Linked DNA regions of Homo sapiens: regions 2, 3, 4, 5, 6 and 7 are each linked to region 1. Evidence: promoter capture Hi-C in human tissues and cell types (Jung and others, 2019). All regions are on one chromosome and are shown on one strand. Each heading gives the region's core, a stretch centred on a gene start or on the middle of the fragment in contact. The rest is flanking DNA. Distances are from core to core; before and after follow the strand shown.

The links. Contacts are between HindIII fragments. The study calls those that stand out against the background at their distance.
Region 2: a contact is called between a fragment that was not itself captured here and the fragment with the promoter of XYLT1 in region 1, in 1 of the 25 tissues and cell types used here (lymphoblastoid cells).
Region 3: a contact is called between a fragment that was not itself captured here and the fragment with the promoter of XYLT1 in region 1, in 1 of the 25 tissues and cell types used here (lymphoblastoid cells).
Region 4: a contact is called between a fragment that was not itself captured here and the fragment with the promoter of XYLT1 in region 1, in 2 of the 25 tissues and cell types used here (dorsolateral prefrontal cortex and mesendoderm cells).
Region 5: a contact is called between a fragment that was not itself captured here and the fragment with the promoter of XYLT1 in region 1, in 2 of the 25 tissues and cell types used here (H1 embryonic stem cells and dorsolateral prefrontal cortex).
Region 6: a contact is called between a fragment that was not itself captured here and the fragment with the promoter of XYLT1 in region 1, in 1 of the 25 tissues and cell types used here (spleen).
Region 7: a contact is called between a fragment that was not itself captured here and the fragment with the promoter of XYLT1 in region 1, in 1 of the 25 tissues and cell types used here (dorsolateral prefrontal cortex).

Annotation. Positions count from the first base shown.
Region 1 is chr16:17,469,677-17,472,274 of GRCh38, forward strand. It overlaps XYLT1 (xylosyltransferase 1), which reads right to left and starts at 1,284. Exons shown (of 12, transcript NM_022166.4): 1 at 758-1,284. The coding sequence starts at 1,120. It overlaps LOC107987234 (a long non-coding RNA gene), which reads right to left and starts at 751. Exons shown (of 2, transcript XR_001752091.2): 1 at 1-751. LOC105371106 (a long non-coding RNA gene) reads right to left here. Exons shown (of 3, transcript XR_933144.3): 3 at 1,331-2,428. RefSeq lists enhancers at 64-333, 454-503, 1,278-1,779. The HindIII fragment of the contact is 9,248 bases long and covers 1-2,346 here.
Region 2 is chr16:17,031,020-17,033,617 of GRCh38, forward strand. No RefSeq gene overlaps it. Among named protein-coding and RNA genes, the nearest start is that of XYLT1, 440 kb to the right of the region's middle. The HindIII fragment of the contact is 3,439 bases long and covers 1-2,598 here.
Region 3 is chr16:17,059,319-17,061,916 of GRCh38, forward strand. No RefSeq gene overlaps it. Among named protein-coding and RNA genes, the nearest start is that of XYLT1, 410 kb to the right of the region's middle. The HindIII fragment of the contact is 3,096 bases long and covers 1-2,598 here.
Region 4 is chr16:17,822,704-17,825,301 of GRCh38, forward strand. No RefSeq gene overlaps it. Among named protein-coding and RNA genes, the nearest start is that of XYLT1, 350 kb to the left of the region's middle. The HindIII fragment of the contact is 3,598 bases long and covers 1-2,598 here.
Region 5 is chr16:17,120,725-17,123,322 of GRCh38, forward strand. The region is part of intron 10 of XYLT1 (xylosyltransferase 1); the gene reads right to left. Among named protein-coding and RNA genes, the nearest start is that of XYLT1, 350 kb to the right of the region's middle. The HindIII fragment of the contact is 4,420 bases long and covers 1-2,598 here.
Region 6 is chr16:17,138,105-17,140,702 of GRCh38, forward strand. XYLT1 (xylosyltransferase 1) reads right to left here. Exons shown (of 12, transcript NM_022166.4): 8 at 251-427. LOC102723692 (a long non-coding RNA gene) reads left to right here. Exons shown (of 3, transcript NR_135179.1): 3 at 138-628. Among named protein-coding and RNA genes, the nearest start is that of XYLT1, 330 kb to the right of the region's middle. The HindIII fragment of the contact is 4,981 bases long and covers 1-2,598 here.
Region 7 is chr16:17,776,689-17,779,286 of GRCh38, forward strand. No RefSeq gene overlaps it. Among named protein-coding and RNA genes, the nearest start is that of XYLT1, 310 kb to the left of the region's middle. RefSeq lists an enhancer at 1-453. The HindIII fragment of the contact is 3,762 bases long and covers 1-2,598 here.

The DNA.
Region 1 (2,598 bases), core at 34-2,533:
GGTCGGACACACAGCTGGTGACCTGAACCGGCCGCAACAAGACAGAAAGACAGAGACAACCAGCTAGGAGAAGGAGCCATGCCCTGAAACTGGAGATGGGGAGGAGATAAAGTCACAGAGGGCATGGGAGACGGCAAGGTTAGAGACAGAGAAGGTGAAGACGGAAGGCTCAAACATCCAGAGAAGAGAAACAGAAGACCCAAAGTAAGACCAGACACCCCGGACTGAGTATTGATTCAGGGGCATGGTCGGGGACTTGGGACGCCCAGCTCAGCCCTCATCGCAGGCCAGGACGAACAGAGGGCTCAACTGTCTGCACCCAGCTCGGCAAAAACCAGAGAGATGCTGCTGCGACAACCGCCCAGGAACAGCGGCTGAGGATCCGGGGAGATCCACTCACTCAGGCAGGGAGCGAGTCACCAAGACCTACACGCACGGAGCAAGTCACCTGGGGTCCCCAGCAAGAGTGATGGGGAACAGGAACCCAGCCAGGCTCCGGTAACCCCCAAAGCGCCCCCGCTGGAGAAAACTTCCCCCAGACCCCAAGGGGTCCGTGCTCAGACTCTGAAAGGGGCAGCCCACGACCCCTGAGCCTTGGCAGGGACCCCACCCGGCTTCCCGGGGCAAGAGGCGATGTGGAGTCGGTAGGCTTGCAGAGTCCCAGTCTGATGACCGAGTTCAAGGGCTAGGGGGGCGTGGGGTCGGGCTGCCTTCCTCCCTCCCTCGCCGCGGGGCGCGAGCCGAAAGGGCATCTTACCAGAGCCCGGGCGGGCAGTGCCCCCCGGCTGGCCGGCTGCTGTCCCCGCGGTTCTCCGGGGCCGCCTCCCCGCGCCCGCGCCTGGGGCCCCCGTCCTCCTCCTCCTCCGCCGCCGCCTCCTCCTCCTCCTCGGGCTGCAGCCGGCTCGGCGGGCAGGTCCCGGCGCTCCCGGCGCGGGGCCGGGGCCGGGGGCGGCTGCTCCCCGCCGCCGACCGCTGCGCCCCCGCGGCGCTCCCCGGCCCCGGAGTCGAGGCTGCTGAAATTCCACACGACCAGCGTCTGCAGCAGCAGCACCGTGAGCGCCGCGAGCAGCGCCGAGTGCGAGCGCCGGGCCAGCCTCCGGGCGCACGGCGCCGCCACCATCTTCGGAGCGCGGCCGGCGAGCGAGGCGCGGGGACCCCGGCACGCTCCGGGCCGCCCCCGCGCTCCCCGCAGCTCCCGCGGCCGCCGGCTGCCGCTCGGGCTCCCGCTCGGGCCGCCGCCGCCGCCCCCCTCCCCACACCCCTGTCCCCGCTGGAGGGGAGGGTGATGGGGAAGGCGCCGGGGGGACGCGGGCCGAGGCGGAGAGGGCGGGGCCTGGGGGAGGAGCCGAGGGAGGAAAAGGAGGAGGGAAAGGAAGGGGGTGGGGGCGATCAGAGAAGACAGACACCCCTCAGGACGTAGTGGGAGTAGGATGGGGGGCGAGGGGGACAATTCCCAAGGCGGAAAAAGAGAGGCAGGGGCCGCGAAACAGGGGACCTTTGGTTGAGGGTGGGCCCGCTCAGAATCCAGGGGAGGTCAGGAAGAGAGGGGGTCCCGAGGTCCTGTTTTCCCTGTGGGCCGCTGGAAGGAGGCAGTGCGTGGAGGAAGCTCCTAGCCCCGGAGTTCGCGGTCCAGGGATCTTCTGTCGGTACCAGACCGGTTGGCAGGTGGACACGTGAGAAACATTTCAGGAGTGTCAGAGCCACAGTCTGATCCCTTCATCCTGGGCTTGAAGGGGTGGGGAGGAGGCTTTGGGTGAGTTTCTGGAGTTAATCAGCACAAGCTCTGTGAGTGACTCCTGAATCACACACAATCCCCGGTGCCAACGATGTACTAAGTGTTCACTGAGTCACTTCTCTGGTCCCTGAGGACTCACAAGCCAAGAGACTCCAAACCCAGTTGGCAAGTGGTATAGCGGCAAAAGGGAGACCCGTGGAGTTACTCAACCTTCGCAGGATGCAAGCCCCAAAGGCTGGCCCCGCAGCCTCCCAGCGTGTCCTTTTCCCCATCCATCCTGAAGTCCCCCTTCCTGTCTGCACAGGGCCCAGGTCCTGGGGAAACAGGTCTTGCTCTTGAAAGTGGAGTTCTTTCCCATCCTGACTGGTCTGTCCCGGTGACCTTGAGCCAGGAGGAGGAGGACTCCTCCCTGAGCCCAAGCTTTCTCCTCTGTCGTTTAGGCAGAATGATCCCAATGGACTCAAATTTCATCCCGAGCCTTCTCTGACTCAGTCTTTCTGGTTTTTCCCTCCCTTGTCCTCTTGCCCAGGGCTTTATACACAGCAGCGCAGAACAGTGAGCATATGGGATGGCGTTGGTGTCCCATACGGGACCTAGCACTCTGGGAATACAACAGCAGATCAAATCAGTTTGTGAATTGAGGACTTGGCGTGAATGCTTCGCATCTTGTCTGCTGTGCTTTTTCACCTCATCCTAATTTACAAAGAGAAGAAAGTGGAGTGTAATGAAGGCTCATCAGACAATGAGGCAGGGAGTGGGAAGAGATTGTTTCATCCACTCCACAAGCATCCGTGAATACAAAGCTTGTGTCAGACACTGGGCCAGGTGCACGCATCCAAAGGTGAATGAGGTTTAATCTCATC
Region 2 (2,598 bases), core at 36-2,535, 440 kb before region 1:
CCAGCCTTGCTTGTCACAGCAGACTGGAGCTTCAGGAATTATTAAGCAGGCAGTGGGAAGAACAAAGGGGATAATGTTCTTTCCATTGAAGTAATTTTTCTCAATGCAAAATGCTTTTTCGGAGTCCATGTGGGTTAATTTCCACCCATTTTGCATGTAGGAGACATGCATCCAAGTCCTCAGTCTCAGAGTTGGAAGAAATATTTTTTCTTTATTTTCCTTATTTCTAGTAAACTTCACCCCAAACCCTCAAACAGTTAGGTTGCTTAAAATAAAAACAATTTTGGTCAATACTGAGGCTTCCCTACCCCTAGAGTTTGTTTATTACAGTAGTTATTGAATTGAATCCTTGAGATAGGACTTTCTGTTGATGTGCATACTACCTGAAACCATGTGACCCTCTTCTTCTATTTTAACATTGGAGCCCAAGACCCTTTTGTGGGGTTGCTGTCCCCTTACCCTGGGGTCCTGCTTTCAGAGGGGTACTTGATAGCTTCTCCTTTGATATCTAAATTTCTTGGGTGCTGCTCCTTCATAAAGGCCAAAGTTCCCACTGTTTGCAAGACACTCACTTCCCAACTGCAACCCCCTTTCCATTTCTAGGGGTGGAAATCCTGCCTCTTCCTGCTAGTTTTCCCTTCCTTGGTCTGATAAATCCAGTTCATGTCTTTATCTTGTGAATCCTCTGCAAATTGCTATGGCAAAAATCCCTAAGATCTCTTTTGAGATGGAAGACCAAACATACAGCAAAGAAAACACAGATTAATAATTCAAAAACATATCTGCCACTGGTAAAAAAAAAAAAAAAAAAAAAAATTAGAATCAAACCATTAATTTCTCCTTACACTTTCTCCTGCAGCAGTGAATATACTACAAAGCTTGGTTTCTGTGATAATAGGAATAAGGCTTACTGAGCTATATTGCATTTCCTAATTGGATCATTCTTCAACCATTTTATCTCATGGGTATCTACCCTGCCTTTTATGGTTGGGGTGGTTTTCTTTTCCTCCCCCTCTTAGATCTTAATTTTGCAAACAAGGACTGAGAAGTGGCATTAAGATCAGCCTCATTATCACATTGCAGTTTGGCACCTTATTCCTCTCTCCATCTTTATTAGCAGAGTCTCTGATTTTTTTAAGCTTATTTGCATAATTTCTAACATCCCGGGTTTATTCAGAAGGCCTTTTGATGAAGGAATGGAGAAGGTCTTCTCTACTCCAAAGGCCTCTTCATTAGGACACAGTGGAACACAGCACCTAAGAACACAGACTCCGCAGGCAACTGAAAAGCCTAGATTTGAGTTCTACTTAGCCGCTTCTGGGCTGCGTGACCCTTGGGAAGTTGTTCAACGTCTTTGAACCTCAGTTTCTCCATGTGTAGCAATAGCAGCTACATCTCATGACCAATCTGAATCACTCCATGGAAAATACAACAGTGTCCTGTTCATGCTATTGGGCGTTGTTATCATTATCCTTTTCTCTTTATTAATGTAAACATTTTACTGAAGAATGACGTACATACAGAAAAGTGCCTGTGTCATAAGTATAAAGCTCAAGGGGTTTTCAGAAATTGACACATCTGAGTCACCAGCATCCAGATCAACAAACAAAGCATTGGCAAAACTCCTAAGAGCACTTTCACAGCTCTTTCCTGCCACTAAATCCTTCCCCGCAAGGGGTAACCACTCTCCTGACTTGTAACAATTGCAGGTTAGTTTTACCTATTTTTGAACTTTATATAAATGGAGTCAAACACGATGCACTATTTTTGTCTGATTTCCTTTTCCTGATATTTTTCATGAGATTCATTCTCTGTTGTAGTCAGCAGATATAATTCATTTTTAATTGCTGTATAGTGTTCTATTTTGGGAATATGTCACAATTTTTATCCATTCTACTTTTGGTGGACATGTATGTTGTTTCTGATTTTGGGCTATGAAATATAGCAATGCTATAGTATATCTAATGCATATATTTTGGAGAATTTGTATATGTATACATTTTTATAGGCATATATTTAAGCATGAAATTACTGAGTCACAAGTTATGGATCTGTTTAACTTTAGTAGACACTGTCAGTGTTCCCAAGTGGTTGTAAAATTTACACTCCCTCCAACAATGAAAAATAATTCCAGTTGATCTACATTCTCACCAATGTTTGGTATCATTGATTTTGTTCATTTTAAACAACATGGTGGGTGTGTAGTCATATTGTGGGTTATCCATCAGATAGCTGATATTTTATTTTTTCAACTTTTCATTTGGAAATAATTTCAAACTTACAGGCAAGTTGCGAGATTAGTACAAAATTGTATGCTCTTCACCCATATACATCAACTGTTCATCATTTTCCACATTTGCTTTATTTTCTCTCTGTAGGCGTGCACATACTGCTTTTTAAAAATATGAGGTAAGTTTCAGATATCATGCCTCATTTACCACTAAATGTTTCAGAGTGTGTGTACCAAGAACTATCTCTTAAATAAACACAGTATAGTAATCAAAATCAGAAAAACTCACCACTCATACGATATAATTATGTAACCTGTAGATCTTATTAAAATTTTTCCAAATATTCCTGTAATGTTTTTGTAGCATT
Region 3 (2,598 bases), core at 69-2,568, 410 kb before region 1:
TGCCACTCCAGGGCTTGCTATGGAAAAATAAAAACGCAAAATAGAACATTCCAGGCCAGTACATGTAGTAAAGACCGTCATGATGCCAAACATGACAACTTTGGCCTTCTCCAGTGTAGTGATGCCTGCTGCTCTGAAAAGCAGCAGCCTTATTTACAAGAGCTAAAGCTTGGAAGCAACCTAAGTGTCCCTGGATGGATGAACAGATAAACAAAATGTAGTATACACATACAAGGGAATATTAGTCTGCCTTTAAAAAGAAGGAACTTCTTTTTCTTTCTTTCTTATTTTTTGAAGACAGAGTCTCACTCTGTCACCTAGGCTGGAGCGCAGTGGTACGATCATAGCTTTCTGCAGCTTTCAGCTCCCAAGGTCAACCAATCCTCCCTCCTCAGCCTCCCAAGTAGCTGTGACTATGGGTGCATGCCTGGGTAACTTTAAAACAAAAAGTTTGTTTGTTTGTTTGTTTGTAGAGATGAGGTGTCACTATGTTGCTCAGGCTGGTCTTGAACTCCTGGGTTCAAGCAATCCTCTTGGCTCAACCTCCCAAAGTGCTGGGATTACAGGCATGAGCCACCATGCCCAGCCAGGAAGGAACTTCTCACACAACGCTGCAACATGAATAAACCCTGAGGACATTATGCTAAGGGAAATAGGCCAGTCATCAGAGAACAAATGCTGTATGAGTTCACATACATGAAGTACTTAGAACAGTTACATGCATACAGATAGAAAGCAGAATGATGGTTTCCAGGGGCTTGGGGAAGGGGAAATGGGGAGTTACTTTTTAACAGGTGTAGAGTTTTTCTTAGTTTTACAAGATGAAAAGAGTTAGTGAGATGGATGGTATGATGGCTGCATATTATTAAATTAATGCTTTCTTTTTTTTTTTTTTTTTTTTTTTAAGACAGGGCCTTGCTCTGTCTCCCAGGCTGGAGTGCAGTGGTACAGTCTCGGCTCACTGCAGCCTCAACCTCTCAGGCTCCAGCGATCCTCCCACCTCAGCCCCCCCATGTAGCTGGGATTACAGGCATGCACCACCACGCCTGGATAATTTTTATATTTTTAGTAGTGACGGGGTTTCGCCATGTTGACTAGGCTGGTCTTGAATTCCTGGGCTCAAGCCTTGACCTCCCAAAGTTCTGGGATTACAGGCCTGAGCCACCGCGGCCAGCCTATTAAGGTATTTAATACTTCTGAACTGTACAATGGTTAATTAAATTAAGGTATTTAATACTTCAATGGTTATGCTGGTAAACTATATTTTATGTGTTTTTCCCTCTCCCTTGTGGTTTTCCCCTGCGGCCTCCTACAGGGAAAAGAGGGGAGGACCTATATCCTTCTTCGATATCATCTCTATCCTACAGCTTGTAGGATATGGTACAGCTTGTAGGATATTTTTACCACAATAAAAACTTCTTATAAAAAAGCATTGGCCTTGCACAAAAAGGCCAGAGTTCTAGCCTTTCCTGGCAGGAATACACTGCACTGGGATCCCTTGAAGCCCTAGACTAGCCCCCACATGCAGGAGATTTGGAATATCCTCACTAGACATCAGATGAACAGGGGTCTGTGTGACTTCTTTAATTTTCCATCACATATCTTGTCTTGCCCTAAGTTTCCATTCCTGCTGCTGCCTGGGACAGATATACAAGAGAAACTGGTTTTACATAATTTTTTCCATTGTAAATTTATTCTTGGCAAAGAATCAAACATTCAAATTCTTTCACAGGATTATTTCCTTTCTCTAGGTCTCTTTCTCCTTTGTCTCTTGAAGGTGACATCTGAGCTCGTAAAACAGTTTGTTTCTGTCCGTGTGCTGGACATCGTCCTTTCTGGCCTCTGCTGCAGAATTCTGAGTCTCAATTTGACCCTGAGTGCCCTGCACTGGTGTCCACTGCAGAGAAACTGCTCCTTCCTGATATTTTTTGAGCATGTTACTGATCGCCCCTGCTGACATTATAGATCTCTGCCATTGGCTCTGGTCCTAAGGTTACCTCATTCTGTGATCTCCTCACCCTAAGCCAGGCCTCTTCTGCTCTATCAATTCTCTCAGAAATTCTGAGCCCCTCTAAAAGGAAGGAGGCAGGGAATCTTGTTAGGTTTTTCTGCAGGATGGCTATGTTGGGGAGACACCATAACATCCTAATGTATGTTTGGGGTTGGCAAACATTGGCCCAAAGGTTGCTTGTCACATGACTTTGTAAATAAAGTTTTATTGGAACAGAACTACACCCACTCAGTTACATATTGTCTATGGCTGCTTTTGCAGTACAGTGGCAGAGTTGATCGTGGTGACAAAGGTTATATAGCCCGCAAGGCTGAAATATTTACTGTCTGGCCCTTTGCAGAAAAAGTTTGCTGGCCTTTGGTCTTTGTGGTGGAGTCCAGGGTTGTGCAGGACATATCCTATGTGGCTGTATGTGACAGCCCTGGCTTTCTGTACCAGGCTGTAGCAGGTGGGACTCAGTGAGGTCCCTCAGCCATGGCTGTCTGACCAGTGCCATTCCATACCAGCTTGGGGAATGTTGCAAGGAGTTTCTTTTTGGATTCCAGCTTTCTGTCATACCATTTGGGGTTTCCAACTTCAGGTTGAGG
Region 4 (2,598 bases), core at 72-2,571, 350 kb after region 1:
AATTCCTTACACTGGACCATTGATTAAAACCCATGTATGTCTAGTGTTCCATTACTGGAACGCTAAGCATGTGGGAGTTATTTATATCCTACTGCTCAAGGTCATCGCTGAGGTCTGATTTCTCACACGTCTGCAATTCAAAAAAATTGCAATCTCTGGCATAAATGGGTTAAACATATCTGACACCTAAATACTGACAGTCACTCATTATCGGTGTGGTTATGGGTGAGTTCCTGAGTTTCTTCCATTCCAAAAAGGAAATAAAAATCTTGCTTCACCTGCATCTCAAGGCTTTTGTGGGGACCTGGGAAGACAGAGTAACCACGAGGTCCCAGAAAGATTTATTGGGCACAAAGTAAGAGAAGTCAGAGATAAAGAAGAAAACAAATTTCTCATTCAAGATGGTATACTGGGGAAAACACTGGACCATTGATATAAAAATACTGAAAGTCATTCATTATCAGTATGGTTATGGGTGAGTCCCTTAGTTTCTTCCATTGAAAAAAGGAAATAAAAATTCTGCTTCTCCTGCATCTCAAAGCTTTTGTGGGGACCTGGTGAGCTAATGGAAGAGGGAATGCTTTGAAAAGAATTGTGATTATTTGGATGTAGAAGGCAAGATGCAGGAGGTGTCACTGGGTGACCCCCAAGTTCCTGACTTGACAAAACAGGTAGATAAGAAAAGATACCCTGGAAGAAAAACACATTTGAGAAGAGAGTTTGGTGGGAGTTGAGTATCCTGTGTTAGTGGAATACCCAAATGGAGATGTACAATAGGCAGCTGGATATTCAGAACACTTGGGCCAGGTGTTCTCCAGAACTGGTCCAATAACCAGAAATTCCATCCTTCTCTCAGCTGGAGTTACTCTGACTGTGACAGCTGCTGCTCCAGTTACTCTATTTATTGTTACTAATCCCCCAGGGCCGCAAGACCCTTCCACAGAACTCTCTCTCATTCCTTTCCACATAAATCAGCAGAAGAACTACACTAAGTCCCAGGTGATAAATGAACCCCTTCCCCAAAGAGTTTGGCTTAAGCCCAAATCAGCAGCTTGCCTGTCGATTTATTGTTCATTTAAATCATTCTTGCCTCTTATGACAAAATGTTAATGACAAAATATAGGTGATCCTCCAATGGAGGGAAAAGCTGTATCTTTGCAACTGGAAATTAGAAATGTATTATTAACAATGAGCATTAATTATATATTTTAATGCTCACAGGAGAGATGTGATTGGGGGATAATTTGCAGAGAGGCATAGGGGGCTCTGAAACCTAGCGCGATCATTTTATTAGACAGATCCTATTTTCTGCAACCATGAATATTTCATTCGGAATATTTACTCCATCTTATTATTCAGCCATTCTTCCTCGGCTAAGCCCCAGATTTAGACAAGTCTTCTCTCTTTCCTGATCTTGTTCTTGAGAGACCGACAGTTATCCAGAGATGATGTATGATTCTGAGAAAGAGTATCCTGAAAACCAAATTATAATTTGCTCTGTCCCCAGGAAAATCCGTATTAGCAATGGAGGCCCTGTGATTACTTAGGGCTGTGCACACTCTATGGGAAAAGGATATGAGGTATCTTAAGTGTTGATATCTCTTGCTCTGGAAAGTCTTCCTAATCCTAATAATCTAATTCTCCAGTCCAAGACCAGATCCAGAGTGCATTGTCCTGCCCCATCAAAGACCCCCACTAGGTTGTCCTAATTACCTGTGACCAAGACACACATCCCTCTGCAAATGTGCCAAGCCTAGATTTCAAGAAGTATTCAGCTCATCAGAACTGAACATTTTAACAAATATTCAGATACATAAACACCCACAACCTACACCCTTGCAAATATGATCAACTTCATGGGAGTAGATGTACTTGCCCAGCATGCAAGTAAGTTTACCCCTACTTCAATGTATTTCATTAAATGAAGTATCTTTCCACCTTTTACTGAGTATTATCTTATTCCTTCCTCACAACCTCACAGCAACATACTCTTCATTCTGTGTACTTTGGGTAGAAGTCAACTGAGCTTCAGAGAGAACATAGAAGCTTAAGAAATAAACTCTTAGCTGGGCACAGGGGCTCCTGCCTATAATCCCAGGACTTTGGGAGGCTGAGGCAGATGGATCACCTGAGGTCAGGAGTTCAAGACCAGCCTGGCCAATATGGTGAAACCCTGTCTCTACTAAAAATACAAAAATTAGCAGGGTGTGGTGGCACACACCTGTAATCCCAGCTACTCGGGAGGCTGAGGCTGAGGCAGGGAGAATCGCTTGAACTCGGGAGGCATAGATTGCAGTGAGCCTAGATTACGCCTTCCAGCCTGGGTGACAGAGTGAGACTCTGTCTCAAAATAAATAAATAAATAAATAAATAAATAAATAAATAAATAAAATGAGCCCTTAAGGGCACATGCTGGTACATGCTAGAACTGAGTTTAAACTAAAGACCAATTCTGAAGTTTATGTATGTAAGATCATCCAACCCACCATTGGGTGAATTTGAGAAAGTTCAAGAAAAAAAAACAAATAAAAAATAATGATAACCCTAATTGTAAACAACAGCAAGTGCCATTTATTTATGACATATTAAAAGCTTTGC
Region 5 (2,598 bases), core at 57-2,556, 350 kb before region 1:
GGCAGGGACTATATATGGCATGCTCACCAATATGTCTCTAGTGTCTGAAACAGTGCTGAACATAGAGTAGGTGCTCAATATATCTCTATAGAGATCTAAAAATAAAGATATATTGAGCACCTATTGTCTATTGATCGATCAATGATCTATACAGATTGATCATCTACTTATGTGTGTTTATCATCTATCTCTACCAATCTGTCACATTAATCTGTCAACTCTATTGTAACCATTAATCATCTATCCATCTGTTTGCCTATTAACGTATCCACCCATCTGTCTGTCTGTTAATCAATCTATGTATCACCTGTCTATCAATCTATCTTGAACACATATTGAATGAGTAGGGGCTGAACACATGGACTTCCCTCCATGCACTAGTTTCCAACAGATACTAACAAAACAGATGAATGGCCACAAAACTACTTTAGGGTCATATTTAAGGAGGTGATTTTTCACCAGTTAGGGGAAGATGGGAACCCTCCAGAACACTGCCCTTGGATCCTCCAAAGAAATGAGGATAAACACTTCCCTGAAATCGAGTTTTAAAACCAAGATAACCTGGGCAGGAGAGTTCTGGAGCAGCTGACAAACAACCTGGATCTTGTTTTTCAACCGAGGAGCGTGAAGGGTGAGGTGTGGGGCAGCCTGAGCTAGGGCCCTGCTGCTGTCACATCCTCCAAGACCTTCTCAAGGGGCCTCATTGTGGAAGTCCACCACCATCCACTGCAGAATGGTCAATTACCCAAATTCAAATACATATTCAAATTCAAGCTTAACATACTGCTCCCTGGCTTCCAACCAACCAATGGCTTTCCATTGCGTTTATTTATTTATTTTTTGAGTTTATAATGTGTATGTATATGTATATATTTCAATAGGTTTTTGGGGAACAGGTGGTGTTTGCTTACATGAATAAGTTCTTTAGTGGTGACTTCTGAGATTTTGGTGCACCCATCACTTGAACAGTATACACTGCACCCCATGTGTAGTCTTTTATCCCCTATATCCCCTCCCCTATATCCCCCAACCCTTGCCCATGAGTCCCCAAACTCACTGTATCATTCTTAAGCCTTGATTTCCTCATAGCTTAGCTCCCTCTTATGAGTGAGAACATACAACGTTTGCTTTTCCATTCCTGAATTACTTCATTTAGAATAATGGTCTCCAATTCCATCCAGGTTGCTGCAAATACCATTGTTTCGTTCCTTTTTATGGCTGAGTAGTATTCCATGGGGTATATATATATATATGCGCACACACACACACACACAATTTATTCACTGATTGATGGGCTGCTTCCATTTTTTTTGCAATTGTGAATTGTGCTGCTATAAACATGCGTGTGCAAGAATCTTTTTTGTATAATGACTTACTTTTCTCTGGTAGATAGCCCACAGTGGAATTGCTGGATCAAATGGTAGAACTACTTGTAGTTCTTTAAGGAATCTCCACATTGTTTTCCATAGTGGTTGTCCTAGTTTACAGTCCCACCAACAGCATAAAAGCGTTCCCTTTTCACCACATCCATGCCAACATCTGTTATTTTTTGGTTATGGCCATTCTTGCAGGAGTAAGGTGGTATTGCATTGTGGTTTTGATTTGCATTTTCCTGATCGTTAGTGATGTTGAGCATTTTTTCATATGTTCGTTGGCCATTTGTATATCTTCTTTTGAGAACGGTCTATTCATGGCCTTAGCCCACTTTTTGATGGGATTGTTTTTTCTTGCTGATTTGAGTTCCTTGTAGATTCTAGATATTAGTCCTTTGTTGGATCTACAGATTGCAAAGATTTTCTCCCACTCTCTGGGTTGTCTGTTTACTCTGCTGATTATTTCTTTTGCCTTGCAGAAACTTTTAAAATTAAGTCCTATCTACTTATCTTTGTTTTTGTTGCATTTGCTTTTGGGTTCTTGGTCATTAAGTCTTTGCCTAAGCCAGTGTCTAGAAGGGTTTTTCCAATTTTATCTTCTAGAATTTGTATGGTTTCATGTCTTAGATTTAAGTCTTTGATCCATCCTCAGTTGATTATTGTATAAGGTGAGAGATGAGGATTCGGTTCCATTCTTCTACACGTGGCTTGCCAATTATTTCTGCACCATTTGTTGAATAGGGTGTTCTTTTCCCACTTTGTTTTTGTGTGCCGTGTTGAAGATCAGTAAGTATTTGGCTTTATTTCTGGGTTCTCTATTCTGTTCCACTGTTCTATATGCCTTTTTTTATACCAGTACCATGCTGTTCTGGTGACTATGGCCTTATAGTATGCTTTAAGGTTGGGTAATGCAATGCCTCCAGATTTGTTCTTTTTGCTTAGTCTTGTTTTGGCTATGCAGGCTCTTTTTTAGTTCCATATGAATTTTAGGATTGCTTTTTCTAGTTCTGTGAAGAATGATGGTGGTATTCTGATGGGAATTGCATTGAATTTGTAGATTGCTTTTGGCAGTATGGTCATGGTCACAATATTGATTCTACCCATCCATGAGCATGACATTTGCTTGTGTCATCTATGACTTCTTGCAGCAGTGTTTTGCAGTTTTCCTTGTAGAGGTCTTTCACCTCTCCTTGGTGGGTTTGGGTTTGTTCTTGTTTCTCTAGCT
Region 6 (2,598 bases), core at 46-2,545, 330 kb before region 1:
CCTAAAATGGAATAATAATGAAAGGTCATTTGTTGTTTTTGGGTTAATGAGTCAATGTGGTTAGAACATCCCTGAAGTAAGTGCTCAATAAACACTGGCTATTGTTGATACTGTTAACTATTATTAATTATCAACAGCCAGGTTTGGGCACCATGTGATAAGATGACCTGCAGGTCTGGCCTTGGATTTCTGCAGAGGTTTGTTGGGAAGGCATCACTTAGGAGGCTGGCAGACCATGAGAAAGTCTCACCTGGAAGCGGTGGAAGTCCTGCGGCTTGAAGTCATTGGGGGAGCAGCCGCACCAGTCCACGATGTGCTTGTACTGGCACTTGCAGCCCAGCTTGCGATTCCAGTTGGTGATGCGCAGGTTGTTGTCCACCATGGTGTCGCAGTGGGGGCTGTTCTCCAGGACCGTATGGAAGAAGGACTGCAGGGGAGAGAGGGACCCAGCCTGAGACCTCTCCCAGCCTCCCACAGATGAACTGGGGTGGGAAATGGTGAACCCTTGCTCTGAGTTCATGTAAGAACTGGTTGTTTAAAAGAATGTGGCATCTCATCAGAAGCTGGGCGGCTTCCTGTACAGCTTGCAGAACTGCAAGCCAAATAAACCTCTTTTCTTTATAAATTACCAAGCCTCAGATTTTCCTTCATAGCAATGCAAAAATGTATAACACAACTACCTGACTGTCAAGGGACTCTTATGTTCTCTGCATGCATTTGAGGTCAGCTGCCCATGTGGTCCAACTCAGAGCGCAGGCGGATGCTCTGTCCAACAGACAAATCAAAGGGATTCAAGTCTGACTGACTGACTGGTGTGCTGGAATTTCACCCCTGGGGTAGGGAGACCAGATTGATGGTTGCATTAGACCCAGGGCTTCCTGCATCGCCAGACGGCAACATAGGGAAGGGAGTGGGTGGGGCTGCTTGCTGTCCATGGTACTGAACCAGGTGCCATATTTTCTCCCTAATCCCAGGATTCTTGGCCAACTGCTTTAAGGGATCTGAGAAAGAGGCCATGTTGGATCTGAAAAGAAAAACTAGAGGAGAAACAATCAATCACTGGAGTACTTGAGAGACTGCCAGAGAGTGAGAGAAAGATTTCTATAATAGACAGTCCCAGGCAAATATATTTCCTCCCTGTTCTCTCTCCCTAAGGGAAGCTGTTGGGGAATCTGTGTCTGCCCGTTACAAGTTAATGGGCACAGCCTTCTGATTTCTTCTAAACCAGTCCTCTTGAAGTGGTCTGGGAGAAGGGAGGGAAGGCAGAGATGCAGGAGGTGGGACTGAACAGAGACCCTGGAGTATATGTGCTTGTGTGTGCTGGGGCCAGGGAGGGGCAGAGAAAGCACACACACGGAGCTTTGGTCACCAGTATCGTGGTGGGCGTCTTGATTAAAAATAGCCAAACTCCCAAACAATCTCTTCTAAATGGATGGGTGGGTAAATGAGGCTCCAGCCGCCACCCCCTGCTGACCTTCCTGTGACACTAAATGACAAGCCCATGAACCTGGATTTTAAGCTTGAATTGCCTACAAGCCCAGGGAGGCATACATTCTCCAACAAGCAGTGGGAAGATGTACCCAATTACTGATTGCCCTGTGTCCTTTCATAATGATACAGAAATTCCCTGCAATATAATGGATGAGGAGGTTATCAGAATTGAGAGAAGAGGTGATTGATTTTTGCTGAAATAGGATTAAAAGCTGATTACTTAACATGTGTGCAGAATAGTAAAACCTGGCCCAGTGATGACAAGCTCATCATCCCTCTGGGTGATGGGGGCAGTCAGCCCTCCCCGGAGCTTGGCACTGCCCCAGACACAGGTGAGAGATGTGCTGGGAGTGTGGCCTGCAGAAACACACATAACCTATGTGGTCCCGGGAAGGAACAAGGGACCGTTCATGAGAAATGCCATAGACTCAATAGAAACGGAACCAGCTCTGCACTGTTCTCAAGCTGGATTGGAAATGAGGGTGCAATCAACCTGGAGGTCAGGAAGATGAATCTGGAATCCCTCAACCCAGCTCTGACCGGCAGGCAGCTAAGGGAATGTCAGTGACAATCCTTCAGAACTGGATCCCCTCCCCACTTCTAGATGGGGCTAGGACTGTTTTAGAATACTCTGGATTAATGGAGTATGACTTATGAAACCAACACCCTTTTCTTCAGGGAATAATAGAGCAATGTTCAACATGAGAAAAGGCATGCTTGGTGTAAAAAGGTGGTCATTACATGATTGGTCATTGTGAAGGATGCGTCAAAAGTTGATGTGGCGGCCGGGCATGGTGGCTCATGCCTGCAATCCCAGCACTTTGAGAGGCTGAGGCAGGAGGACCACTTGAGGCCAGGAGTTCAAGACCAGCCTGGCCAACATGGCAAAACCCCATCTCTACTAAAAATACAAAAATTAGCTGGGTGTGGTGGTGGGCGCCTATAATCCCAGCTACTCAGGAGGCTGAGGCAGCAGAATTGCTTGAACTCTGGAGGTAGAGGTTGCAGTGAGCAGAGACTGTGCCACTGCAGTCCAGCCTGGATGACAGAGGAAGACTGTCTCAAAAAAAAAAAAAAAAAAAAAAAAAAAAAAAAAGTTGATGTGGG
Region 7 (2,598 bases), core at 58-2,557, 310 kb after region 1:
TGAACTGGGCAGTCTGACTCCAAAGTTTAGGCAATTAACCTAATGAATTAATGTCAGGAGTCGGGTGAGGAATGGGGATGGTGTGTTTATTACATGCAGGCACTATTTTTAGTTTTTAAATGGATTGCCTCATTTAATTGTGTCTAGCCTTTAACACAGTCATTGTTATTTCTAACATTGTACAGAGGAGGGAATTGAGGCACAGAAAGCACCTGCCAACTGGAGGCAGAGCGGCCAGAATTCAAGCCCACGCAGTATGACTCTAAAGCTTACGGTGGTGGGAGGTGGGGGGCTGTTTCCACTCTGCTCCAATTCTGCACAAAGTCATGCTGCCCTTTACTCAGCTTTCCCTGCCAGGACAGCCTGGCACAGTCCCTGTGTTCCCTCTGAAATAGCTTCACTGCTACTCACTCTCAGTGGGCCTGACTCCCGGGGCACCGAGCCCTGAGGGTCACGATGAGTGCTTTCAAGTTCCAAAGCGGTCTTATACACAAAGCCAACCGCACCGGGGGAAACTGCCAGAGGCTTCCCCAGGGTTGGGACTTCCAAAGTGGGGGCAGTCTTTGTCTTCAACCAAACCAGGCTTCACAGAAAAGCACGAGGAGAGCCCAGAGGGGAGATCTTAGGGGTGTTTTCAGAATATCATGAAAGTCTTCTCTGACAAAAAAAAAAAAGAGAGAACTATGAGCACCTTCCCCAATCCCCTCCCTTTCAGTAGTTACCGAAGCAGAGATGGTGTGTGTTTCAGAGGCATCTCCTGACATGATTGCCCTGATGTTTACAATAATGATCAGATCATTTTCCCACAGCCATTTCATCCAATGAGCCCAAATAGGATTACTGAGAAATTGCAAGGTCTTGCAGGAAATTTCTCTTCTGACCTTGGGCATTGTTAGGATGACTCACAGGAAGCAAGATCCCCTTTCATTGTTAGGGAGGACAATTCTGCAGCCTCTTCTCCAAACAGGGTGATCCCAAAGTGGTAAGGAAGAGACATTCTGAATGGCAATCATTTATCACCTGTGCACCCAGACACAACCACCCACTGTGCCCACATGATGGGGAGACATGGCGTGTGACTGTTTCTGTGAGTCTCCACTGTGAAGCAATGTCAGCTTCTCTTATGCAATACCCTCAGCTTCAGCGAGATGCAGAGAAAAAGGTTATACTAGAGCACAATCAGTTCTCCTTCAAAGACTTTTTTCTTTTTCTTTTTCTTTTTTTTTTTAATTTTTTAAGACGGAGTTTCGCTCTTGTTGCCCAGGCTGGAGTGCAATGGTGTGATCTCGGCTCACTGCAACCTTTGCCTCCTGGGTTCAAGCAATTCTCCTGCCTCAGCCTCCTGAGTAGCTGGGATTACAGGTGCACACCACCAAGCCTGGCTAATTTTTGTATTTTTAGTAGAGATGGGGTTTCACCATGTTGGCCAGGCTGGTCTCTAACTCCTTACCTCAAGTGATCTGCCCGCCTCAGCCTCCCAAAGTGCTGGGATTACAGGTGTGAGCCACCATGCTTGGTCTTAAGACTTTTCTTCTTAAAAACACAGCTTGATAAGTAGATGAGGATAGTGAAGACCATATGAGAAAAGAAGGATGAGGGCAGATTTGTACTGTCAGATACCGAAATGCACACTTTAGGTACAATAATTGTAATGATAAATATGTATGGGCAAGAATTGGCAAAAGGATCAATGAACTAACATATATAGCTCCAAAACAAATAGTACACATTCTTTCTTTCTATCCCTTCTTTCTTCTACACCTGCACGCACATACATGGGCACACACATGTACACAATAAGTTCAGCACTGTAAATCAATAGGAAGAGGAAGATTCATCCATCAGATCAATTAATGTACCCTTGGGAAAACATAAATCACTCTAGGTATTTCAAACAGTAGGGACTTTAATACAGGGAATTGATTACAAATGTGTAGAAAAATAAGAGGAGCAAAGTAGAGATTGCCCAGGGATTAACACCTGTAGGAAGCCAGTACATTCTCTAGAGCTGGATGATGAAAAGAGGTATTATCAAGAAGTCAAGAGTTTACAATACTGCTGATGCTGTCGCCAGAAGCAGAAAAACAGTTTCTACACTTTTCCCATTTGTGAATCTCATGTGATCGACCCCACTGGTCACCATCGACCCATACCCAGCCGCCAAGGAACTCTGGAAATATAGTTTTCAGGTTCCCCGCTGTGGTGTAGAGTGGAATAGACATAAGGACAGGCATAGGGCTGAGATTTGACAGACCATGTTTGGCAAAGAGGATTTATTTGATAATGCTACAGAAGGCAGTGAGCTGGTAACTGAGCAAAAACAAACATTTTCGCTTCTTGCTGTAAAGCAAAATCAATCCCAAGTTGTGCAAAGGGTTAAACATACACACCAATATTCAAAGACAGAAAGGAAAAGAACAGCAAAACAGAAAAATATGAGGAAAATGTTATGATTTAAGGGTGACCAATAACTTTCTAAATATTGAGGCAATGAAAAAGTTATGAAAGAAAAAATTATATATTAGAATAAAAATAATTTCTAATGGTAAGAGAGATGATTACGAATCAAGTAATCTGGAAGGCAGATTTACAATATAT